Linked DNA regions of Homo sapiens: region 2 is linked to region 1. The links are contacts of gene promoters, found by promoter capture Hi-C in blood cells and fetal thymus (Javierre and others, 2016). All regions are on one chromosome and are shown on one strand. Each heading gives the region's core, a stretch centred on a gene start or on the middle of the fragment in contact. The rest is flanking DNA. Distances are from core to core; before and after follow the strand shown. Region 1 holds the start of DHX29 (DExH-box helicase 29). Region 2 overlaps MAP3K1 (mitogen-activated protein kinase kinase kinase 1).

Region 1 (5,289 bases), core at 707-3,206:
TGTCTCAAGCCAAATTAATGTTATCACTATATCAAAACCTCTGAACGTCCCTGTTTTTTTCACCCTGACATGCAAATTAAACATCTCTTTTGACTTCCTTTCCCTTGTTTTCCTTAATTAATGAAGGCCTGTCCATTTTTTCCTTAACATGTTCGTACCTTTCCATTCCTCTGCCACTGCCTGAGTTGAGGTTCTTTTCATCTTTACAACCAGATAACTAACATAATTTCCTAATTTACTTTCTCACTGTCTATCTTCTTTCCCTATACTATTATAGTACTCTGCCAACCACTGCCAAATTAATTTTCCTAAACTATCATTCTACTTATCCAATCACCTTGTTCAACAGGGTTTTAAAAATGAAATCAAAACTCCTCTGCTTGATATTCAAGGCCCCTCATGTTCTCAAATCAATGTATATTCCCAGTCTTATCTCTTGTAGTCCCTAAATGAAACAGTTCCTCTTGCTCAATTTATGCTCCTAAAAACAAACAAACTTGGCACCATTAACAACACAATTTCCTTAACTCAGAATATTCTCTTGTATATAAATAAGCCTTCCTGAAAGTCAGAAATAGGATCTCCCTTTCTTGAACTTTTATAACACTTAATTGTATATATCATTCATTTTAAGTTAACGACCTCCTCACCTATACTGTAACTCTTTAATGGGTACCTGTTCTCTTTCCCTACACCGAAAATTCCTTGAGAGCAAAATCATGTCTAATTTAATTTCAAGCATCTATTGGGTATCTGGCCCCACAATGCCAAGAGTATATTTTGTTGATTGTTAATTAATCATCTTACTTTATTTAATACAAGTAATAGCTTTTCCTTGTTCTACTATAAACAGATCTGTACACTTTCTGGTGGCTGTATGCACCAGTCTAAACATATGGGTAGGGTCCAGTAATTTTTAAATTTTTTCTCAATAAACTCACGATAGCTACCATTTATTAGTGATAGCTAGCTAACCACTGTTAGGCACTTTACACGTGTATCTCATTGAATCCTCATATCCACCAGTGGTAGGCACTATTATCTCCATTTTACGGAAGAGAAAACTACTACATCTTGGAGATTAAATGTCTCTCCCTTCTCATGTTATTATCTGCCCTTTCCCCTCCAAATCAATTCATATCATTTTTTCTAAACCTTTTCACCTTTTACTCAACTAATCATTCGTTTTGTTTATTAACGACTATGTGCCAGGTGTTGTGCTGATGCAGGAGACAACCGCGAAGATGGGGACAGAATCAGTAACATCGACGTAAGGGAATTGAAGCAGAAGATCACGCTGCCTGCAGACACCAGGAAACGCCAAGACCCCCCTTCCACGAACCAACATTCTTCCACCCTCTCCAACTTTTTTCTGGAACCCCTTCACTTCCAACGCCACTCAATGTACACTTCACTTTCTCGTGCTCTTCCTAAGAGAGTAGTGTTTTCTTCCTCCCCACCGAGAAAAAAAATAAAAGCAACAACTGGAACTTCTTCCTTACCCTGCCTTGTCTGCAGACCCTGGAGGCCCCTTCCATTTCCCCTTGTCCTTTTCCTTGTCTTTTTTGGTTCCCGCCGCAGTGGTCGAGTCGCCCTCGAACACGCTGAACAGCTCATCTCCGAATGCGTCCGCCATTTTTGGGAGCAGTGAGAGCAAATCTCCCTCCTACCCACGATGCCCCGCGACCGAAGACAGTGACGTCTCGTGAAGGCTCAACAGTGGCCCGCAGGAGACAAAAGTAGTCGAGTCGCGCAGCCGACAAAAATGTTCCCCTGACTTTTTTTTTTTTTCCTGCTTTTCTTTCCTTTCCTTTCCGACCTAAAGTGGATAAGCTGCTCAGTGGATAAAGAGCGAGGGCGGCGCGTGGCGCCTGGCGTGTGGCAGGCAGCTGGCGACTCAAGGAGGCGGAGCCTGCTGAATTCGACCAATTGCGAGGCAGCGGTCGCCCCGGCCCGAGAAGCCCGGATCGAAGCGCAGGGTGGCAGCCCCGGAGCCGGGGAATGTGAAGAGCTCTCGGCTGTGCAGTGGTACCGTCGGGGCCTGGGCCGCGAAGGATCTTCTGCCACAGCTGCAACATGGGCGGCAAGAACAAGAAACACAAGGCTCCAGCGGCCGCGGTGGTCCGGGCCGCCGTGTCTGCTTCCAGAGCCAAATCTGCCGAGGCTGGAATTGCCGGGGAGGCCCAAAGCAAGAAGCCAGTGTCCAGGCCGGCCACCGCTGCCGCTGCCGCTGCCGGCTCCAGGGAGCCCCGTGTCAAGCAAGGTACGAGAGGTCCCCCAGCCCCTGGCTGTCTGCCCTGAGACCTTGCTGCTTGTCCTGAGGAAAGGGCCTTAGAACCCGGGAGGAGCTTCGGGCCCAACATTTCTATTTCCCAACACTCGAGCTGCTACCTCCCCATGGGGTGGCCTTGTTTTAGATTAAAAAAGTCTAAGCTCTTTGGGCCTCCAAAATTCTGACAGTAGCCCTGTTGCAGCCTGGCATTTCTCTTTTAACTCACACTTCTCCCCCTTCTAAAAACAAAATAATTGCATTAGCTCCTGTTTCAGCAGGAATTCATCCTGAGCACCATCTCAGCTAGCTAGGCTAACGCAAAGACGAGTACTGAGTGGAGTTCCTGACCTCCTGGTGCCAGCCAGCCCCATTTTCTGTCAGTTTTTCATATCATTTTCAGCAACAATCTAGTGTCTCCATGCGTTCTGGAAAAATCAATACTTAATAAAAATTACAGGACTTACACACTGGTTACACACTGGTTACGTGTAATCTATTGTAAAATTGTCTGCCCTCGTTTCTGCCGCCATGCAGTTTTGCTTACTGTACAAATTGATTTGACAACTCAACTTATAGATGGCCGATTCCTGCTGCAGATGAGCAGGCCACATATTACGGTTGAGCTCAAAAGATGAACAATTACATTCTGTTGTGTTCTTCTCGGGTTGTTTGCTTGTACTTATTGGAGTATTCAAGAAATATTTGCTGAGCATTTATGTGTATATATGCAAATATTTAGTATGTGTCTGATAAGATGTGAGGAATGTGATGAGCAAAAAGAGACATCACCTCATGGAGCTTGCCAGTCTAATGTCAGAGATAGGTATTAACTAATAGGTAACGCACACAGACATATTTATAGCCTTATAATAGATAAGTGCCACAAAGAAAAGCCAGGGAAGACAGTTTAACAGGGTAATCTAATTTTTCTCGGGATGAGCAGGTATCATGGATGGTGTCTGGAAATGTAACAGTTAAGCTGAGATGAGGAGAATGAAAAAGGAGTTAACTCTGTGAAGCATGGCAGAAATTAGTATTCCAGGCGGGCGTAATGAACATCATGTGTAAAAAGTTTGAGTCAGGAAAGAGCTTGGGGCTCTTGAGGAATTCACAGAACATAAAGCATCGCCAAAGGATGAAATGAGATGAGACTGAAAAAGTAGGCAGGTACCAGACCTTTACCTAGAAGGTGGAAACAGTTCTTTGCCCTGCGATTTATTGTAGTGTTAGCTACAGAGTTAGCATACTTGTAATTACAAATACATAGAATTTCTCCCTGACAACTATGGCAGTTTTATTCTGTGGATCAGCCTCTTTTTTACTTTTCCTTTGTCTTTTACTGACATTCCTCTGAATTTGAACCGATAGTCATTTGTTGTATTCTTTGAATTCCCTTTCCTCCAGCCCCAAACTGTGACCCTTTCTCAAGGTGTCAATCCTTGACAGTATAGTTCACTCCTAAAGCCCTTCTAGGAGTGTTCATCTATTTCCATTACTTCTATCTTTTCCTTTGTAGATGGCCTCTCTTCCAAGCTCAAGTTGGCAATTTATACATTTTGCTGGATTCTCTGACCCTATTTTTTGCAAGCATCTCAAATTTAACAGGGCTAGTACTAAACCACTCTTCTTTCCCCAAACTAACTTTTTCTTCGACTTCCTTGTTTCTGTTTTTCCATATTTCACTTTGCATTTGTGTAGTTCACATCCTAGTCTTGGTACCTGTGAATTCCTGGAGTAGCAACGAAGTCTTTTAATAGGGCTCCACAGCTGTGCTCATTTTGCTTCCTCCAGTTGGTCTTGCATATCAACATCAGACTGATCTTCCAGAAATGCTGCTTTGGTCGTAACACTTCCTATTTTCTTCCATGGCATCCTCACTGACTTTGCAATAAAATCCAAATCATTTAGCTAGCTTCTAAAACCCTCTTTCTAACCTTTTAATAATTCCTCTATTCAACTATAGCAAGTCTGGTGTGTTTTCATTTCTCCAAATGGAGCTCTTAGCTTTCTCCTTCCTCGTATTTATTCTTGCCATGTTTTTCTTCATGGAGTGCAATCTGTCCCTAACATCATCTACCAAAACCTTAAAATACCCATTTCAGATAACAACTTCCTTTTGAATTCTTCCTGCTATTCACAACTGACGTATCATAGTTGTTTAAATCATTCTTTTTGATAGTTAGTTCTTGCCTTATGATATGTAAAGAATTATATGTTTTATATATCCAACAAAATTACAGGAGGTAGGAACAGTTTTATGGATATGTGTTAACATTTCCCCAGTATCTACTCTAGTGCTGTGCATATTGTCATGAAGAAAATTACTTGGATAACTGGTAAGGAAAGTTCAAAGGAATTATTAAGACCAAGAAATCAAGAGAAAAAAACTAGAGGTTATCTACTAAATTTGCACATAACTTTTGGGTTTATTTTAGGGTGCTTTTAATATATAGTATAACGTACAATAAACCTATTTTGGAGAAAAAAGTGGAAAAATGCTCAACTCTGTGTAGTTCCTAATGTAGATGTAATGGTTCTACTCTACTTCCGTCCCTCCTTATCTTTCCAATTTGACGGCACAGCTGGTCAAAATTGTCCTCTATCGTAGAGGTTCAGAATCACCAAATGGCTTGCACAACAAGTAATACCAGTCTTGTTTTTTTTTTAATTTCATTTGCTCATGAAAGAATTTCTGAAGAGGCCGAATAGGGAGGAGGGTGGGGAGAGGTTCAGTATTAAATAGGATGGTCAGGGAAGGAAGGCATCATATAAGAAGGTGGCTAGGCGCAGTGGCTCACGCTTGTAATCCCAGCACTTTGGGAGGCCGAGGCAGGCGGATCACGAGGTCAGGAGATTGAGACCACGGTGAAACCCCGTCTCTACTAAAAATATAAAAAATTAGCTGGGCATAGTGGCGAGCGCCTGTAGTCCCAGCTACTCGGAGAGGCTGAGGCAGGAGAATGGCGTGAACCCGGGAGGCGGAGCTTGCAGTGAGCTGAGATTGTGCCACTGCACTC
Region 2 (5,289 bases), core at 1,327-3,826, 1.5 Mb before region 1:
AGCGAAACTCCATCTCAACAACAACAAAAAAAGAAGAATCTAGACCCTTGGAGCAAGAAAAATATCTTTAAGACTCCGTCTCAAAAAAAAAAATAAAAATTTTTTTTAAAAAACCGGAAAAGATCAGTATATTAGTGGTAGTGGTGATTATTATGCATTTTAAAGAAACTGCAAGGTATAAAATGACTCAGGTCAACAATAACAAAAAAGATTTCTCCACACAGATAATAGATAAGACATTCGGTAAGCAGCATCCATTTTTATGTAATTCTAAAGTACATATTTATTCAGTATCATCAAGGCTACAGAAATACATCTTACAGAACAGTTAGAGGTTTACCACTTCAAAGATCAAGACACTTTCTATAACTATCTTGGATAGTAATTTTCCTTAATCTATATTACAAGCTTTCCAACTTCACTTCACTGAGTATATTTTTAAATGGCAGAGGCTGCCCTAGATGGAACTAATTGTACCAATGCTAGGTGGCCCCCGACTGCAATGTTTTGAGTCCTATTCTCCCTCTCTCCTCTCACTGTCAGGTGTGCCAACACTGCTGCCTTTGGGGAACCTGCCTCTTGCAGGACTCACACCGCCACCCCTTCTAACTGGCTGCTTCTAATTGCTGCATGTTAGGAACACCACATGAACAACACTGCATGAACAACATCTGAAATAAGTATCAATCCTGAGCAAATGCCCTGGGAACTCTACTAAGTGTAAAATCAAAGTGCTTCAAAGCACATATTTTGTTACAGGTCCTTTGGCTGCTTAGAGTATTTTTTCTTACTTCTTAGTGCTAACCCATGTTCTAGATAAGAGAGGCTGCTGGGTTTACTTACCAACAGTAAACTTTGAAATGTTTTGTTACATGGGTTCTTGGCTTCTGCAATCTCATGGAGTACTTGCCTAACAAATATTTTCTTCAATGGAAATGTGAACTTTTATTTATCCCAAGTTGAATTATGATCAAATTAATGAATTTTGGATGAAGTAGGGTTATCAGATAAGAATTCTAAAAATGATATCTTAAGTTTAGATGACATTCTGAGAACTTTAAAAATAAGAATAATTATATTAATGCATGACACCTTTATGTGTATATTTATTCACAGATGTATGTGTGAATATATAAATGCATATATATACACACACGCACTCTTAACTCCCTATTAAGTACAGAATAATTATATACACATAGCAGACTCTTCTTACCTATAAAGTTGTCATGCAGTATAGCTATTTGCTCTCTACTACATTAAGCTGTCCTATTTCACTCGAGCCACCAGGCACGTCTACAAGTCCAGGTACCTCTGAATGAGTCTATCACAAATCTACAGTGTTGAAACACCATAGTCTAGACTTTTGCCATTTAACACCTTTTCAGCTATGTCCTAAACTACGTCTGACTAAACAGGAAAAACAGTGGATCCACTAATTTGAACATGCCATGCCATTATCCCTCTCATTCATTTATTCAATAAATATTTATGCAGTGTCTACCCTATGCCAGGCATCCTGCTAGGTGCTAGGGGGAAGGCAGTCATTCATCAAATGAGGTAACAAATGTAAAAGCACAACACTGACAGTAGGGACACCCTGCTACAAAGCCAGTCTGGGTGGATGAGGGAAAGCTTCCCTGAGGAAGTGTCAATGAGTTAAGATTTTAACAACGAGGAGCTGACTTTATGGAAAAACAGTGTTCCTGGCAGAGGGAGCATGTGAGGGCCCTATAGAAGAAGGCAGTGAGTGAGTCTGAGGAAATGAAAGCACGCAACCCTGCCACGGAACAAGGGCAAGTGTGAGCTGAGATGGGCCTGGAGAAGCAGACAGGGGCCCAACCGGGCAGGGACTCGGTCAGGCATGTTAAAGATTTCCTGGTCTTTATCCAAATGGAAGCCATCTGAACATCTTAAAATTAAATTACATTTACTTTTCTGGAGGGAGGAAGTTATGATCAGATTTACATTTGGAAATGATCACTCTGGCCACCTAATACAGATTGGAACGGACAGCAAAGGAGAAAGGACACAGGGATCAGGCAAGGAGGCCACTAAGTTAGTGGAAATGAGAGACAATGGGCACCTGGCTAGGGGTGTGATAACAGGTCAAACTGCCAGCACCTAAGGATGGTCTGAATCTGACGAGGTGAGAGGAGGAGGTGTCAAGGGTGACTCCTGGGTTCTGGTTCTGCCATTTAATGAGCAGGGAACATGTTAGGAGAAGGTTTAGGGAAGATCTTTAATTTGGTTTTAGACATCTGACTGCGCAGAAGTCATGTAGCCAGGTGTAGGTCTGGACTTTAGGAGAGATCATGGTTAGGACAATAAACTCTGCAATCATTTGTAAATGGTCCATAACTGATCTAAGGGCATTAATAAGACTGGGGTGGGGATCGACAAGACAGAATGAGAGAAGGCCTAGGACCACCCTGGGAATCTTCCAGTATCAATGTTCAAGAGAATGAAGATGGGCGCCACGGAAGAAGTGTCATGGTTAAGTAGAAAATCAGGAGGGGCTTACCAATTAACGCAAATAATTAGACACTTTCAAATACCAGGAATTCAGTTTTCTCAATATTTGACAGTTTGAGCATGGCTCCAATTATTTTGTAACTACACTAATTATTAGAAGGCTCACATTACATAAAATTGGTCAATATTATCAATGACTGCTTGCTAAATGCCAACTACTGCTATTAAACATCAAGCAATGGTCTGGCCGCAGTGGCTCATTTCTGTAATCCCAGCACTTTGGGAGGCCAAGGTGGGTGGATCACTTGAGGTCAGGAGTTCAAGACCAGCCTGGCCAACATGGTGAAACCCTGTCTCTACAAAAAAATACAAAAATTAACTGGGCATAGTGGGGCATGCCTGTAATCCCAGCAAGCTACTCGGGAGGCTAGGCAGGAGAATTGCTTGAACCTAGGAGGCAGAGGCTGCAGTGAGCAAAGATTGCGCCACTGCACTCCAGCCTGGGCAACAGAGCAAGACTCCGTCTCAAAAATAAATAAATAAATACCAAACGATATACAAAAACTCCTAAAAAAAGACAGTTCTTGCCTTCAAAACTCGTCTTAAGCTAGATCATGATTAAAATCTCACTACAGTAAGTTAATCTTCAGATATACTAATTTAACCACTTTTGGAAAATTAATTCATGTTAACATTTCTGGGTACCTAATATTCATGGGTGCCAGACACTAGTCTAGATGCTGGGAGATGGTGCAAAGAATCAGATAAAGTTCCTGGTCTGTTAACAACTGATGTTTAGTATTCAGAATACCATAAGACCAGTTTGAAGATTATGTGTTAACATATAACTTAAATTATTGTTTAGGCAATGAAGAAAAGTAAAGCCAGACACAGTGGCTTGCACCCATAGTTCCAGCTATGTGGAAAGATCACCTGAGCCCAGGAGTTCGATTCCAGCCTGGGCAACATAGTGAGAACCCATTTCTAATTTAAAAATAAAAAAAGAAAAGTAATGATAACATCTGTCAAGAGCAAAGCTTCCACCTACACCCCAGTACTGACCCTGTTCTCACTCCATGTCTATCCATCATTATGCTTACAAGTGATGAACTTAGTTAACGTACTAACTACAGTACTGTGTAGGCTGTCCCATGTGGCTCCAAGCACTTTCTCCAGGCTTCAAGAGGTCTGGTGGCTTAGTAATTCCCAGGTGACAGATGTGTACTTGCAGAATTATACACTTGGTGAGTTTTAACAATTCCCCTTAGTATGCTACAACATCTCCACATCTCGATCAAATTAACATCTGCATCAAACCAGCCTGGTATTCCAAAGGACTCAATCACTAACAATACAGAACTCCCTTCCATACCAAACATAACTCAATCACCAATGACATGCCATAGAGTAAATAAAGACAAGGCTATCTTCTTGATCATCTTATGCCCTAAAGAATATTTTATATTTCTCCATGTTGTTTTCGTAACTAGTAGAGTTGCTGTTACTAATAATAAAGACAGAATTTCAGAACTAGCAGTAGCAGATGTTGAATTTCTTGCTCCCCGTATCTCCTTTTTAATTTTCCCTTGGAAGAAAAAAAAACATGCCTGAACATGCAGTGTTGTATATATTCTTATCAGAAAATAGGCAGAAATAGTTTGAAACTAATATGTTGTATCCCCTCTGTATCCCCATCTCTCTTATAGCACTTAACACGGTATTGTGAAACATGTTCATACTACAACCTACCGACAGAAACAGCTTGTGCACTCATGATCTTTTTCTCCACCACTCAAGACCACCACCTTGCAGAAGTTCATAAATGTTGAATGGATGAAATCTAAAACAATAACAAAGGGGTAGGGTCTAGCAATAGTAAAAGTTTCTCTTCCTGTGTGATTACCATGAATGAACCATATTAATTTCAGCTTATCTCCTTTCACTTATGATTTAATACAGCACAAATCAATAAATCTAAGAAACATTCAACACTAATGACTAACCCTCTTTGGCTGACATGATAGGGTGATCCAAATACAGTTTACTTGTATTACATATACAAGGCCAGGTTACAGAAACATACCTATTATATACATTAACAGGCAAACTTAGCACAGGGTAGAGACCTAGCTCATGGTCTATTAGAATGCCTGCAAAACAAATTTCTCCTTAAAAATAATCAATTAATTTGATTATTAATTTGAAAAAAGAAAATGGAAGAAGCAGAGTAGTGGAAAGAAATGGACTGTGGAGTCAGTCTGACTTGGGATTGAATCCTAGCTGTCTTCTAGTTGTGTAATCATGAGGTTTTACCATCTCAGATGAGTTTGCACCTACAGAAAACAGAAATTACACTATCTTAGGGGGCTGCAGTGATGATCAAATGAGATTATATATAAACATATATATAATACATATAATAGATATCATACACACACACAGAAGGCAAAAGAGTTGATTATGTAAAAGGTATCTAGGCATATCTATATGCTCAATGAGTATGTTTTAAGCCACAGATAAAATCCTAATATATTTTTGCAAACTGAAAAGAGTATCTGACTAATCTCATGCTTTGCAATGAACCATTTACTAATTCCGGCCCTGATTATTTCTTTCATGATTAAACATGTTCTTAAATAATTTCTTAAAGACAACTTTGGGTTACTCCTAATCTTACACATTTCCTCACATTAATAGTCTACCATTTACATGTTTAAGTTGCTTTAGCTTTTAACTTAGGATATAGAAAGAGGCAAGGACTAAGGAAAACAACCAAGTCTATACTTGATATATTTGATAGAAGCAAAGAATTCC

The links. The method cuts DNA at HindIII sites, captures the fragments that hold promoters and counts their contacts. A CHiCAGO score of 5 or more calls a contact.
Region 2: a fragment that was not itself captured here is called in contact with the fragment with the promoter of DHX29 in region 1 in 1 of 17 cell types (fetal thymus); the score reaches 9.9 in fetal thymus.

What each region holds. Positions count from the first base shown.
Region 1 is chr5:55,304,361-55,309,649 of GRCh38, reverse strand. It overlaps DHX29 (DExH-box helicase 29), which reads left to right and starts at 1,956. Exons shown (of 27, transcript NM_019030.4): 1 at 1,956-2,263. The coding sequence starts at 2,077. MTREX (Mtr4 exosome RNA helicase) reads right to left here and starts at 1,661. Exons shown (of 27, transcript NM_015360.5): 1 at 1,503-1,661. The coding sequence starts at 1,636. It overlaps LOC124900979 (a long non-coding RNA gene), which reads left to right. Exons shown (of 2, transcript XR_007058774.1): 2 at 1,213-1,501. RefSeq lists enhancers at 1,408-1,887, 2,028-2,287. The HindIII fragment of the contact is 7,705 bases long and covers 1-5,289 here.
Region 2 is chr5:56,819,752-56,825,040 of GRCh38, reverse strand. The region is part of intron 1 of MAP3K1 (mitogen-activated protein kinase kinase kinase 1); the gene reads right to left. Among named protein-coding and RNA genes, the nearest start is that of MAP3K1, 6.8 kb to the right of the region's middle. RefSeq lists a silencer at 4,305-4,599. The HindIII fragment of the contact is 1,877 bases long and covers 1,638-3,514 here.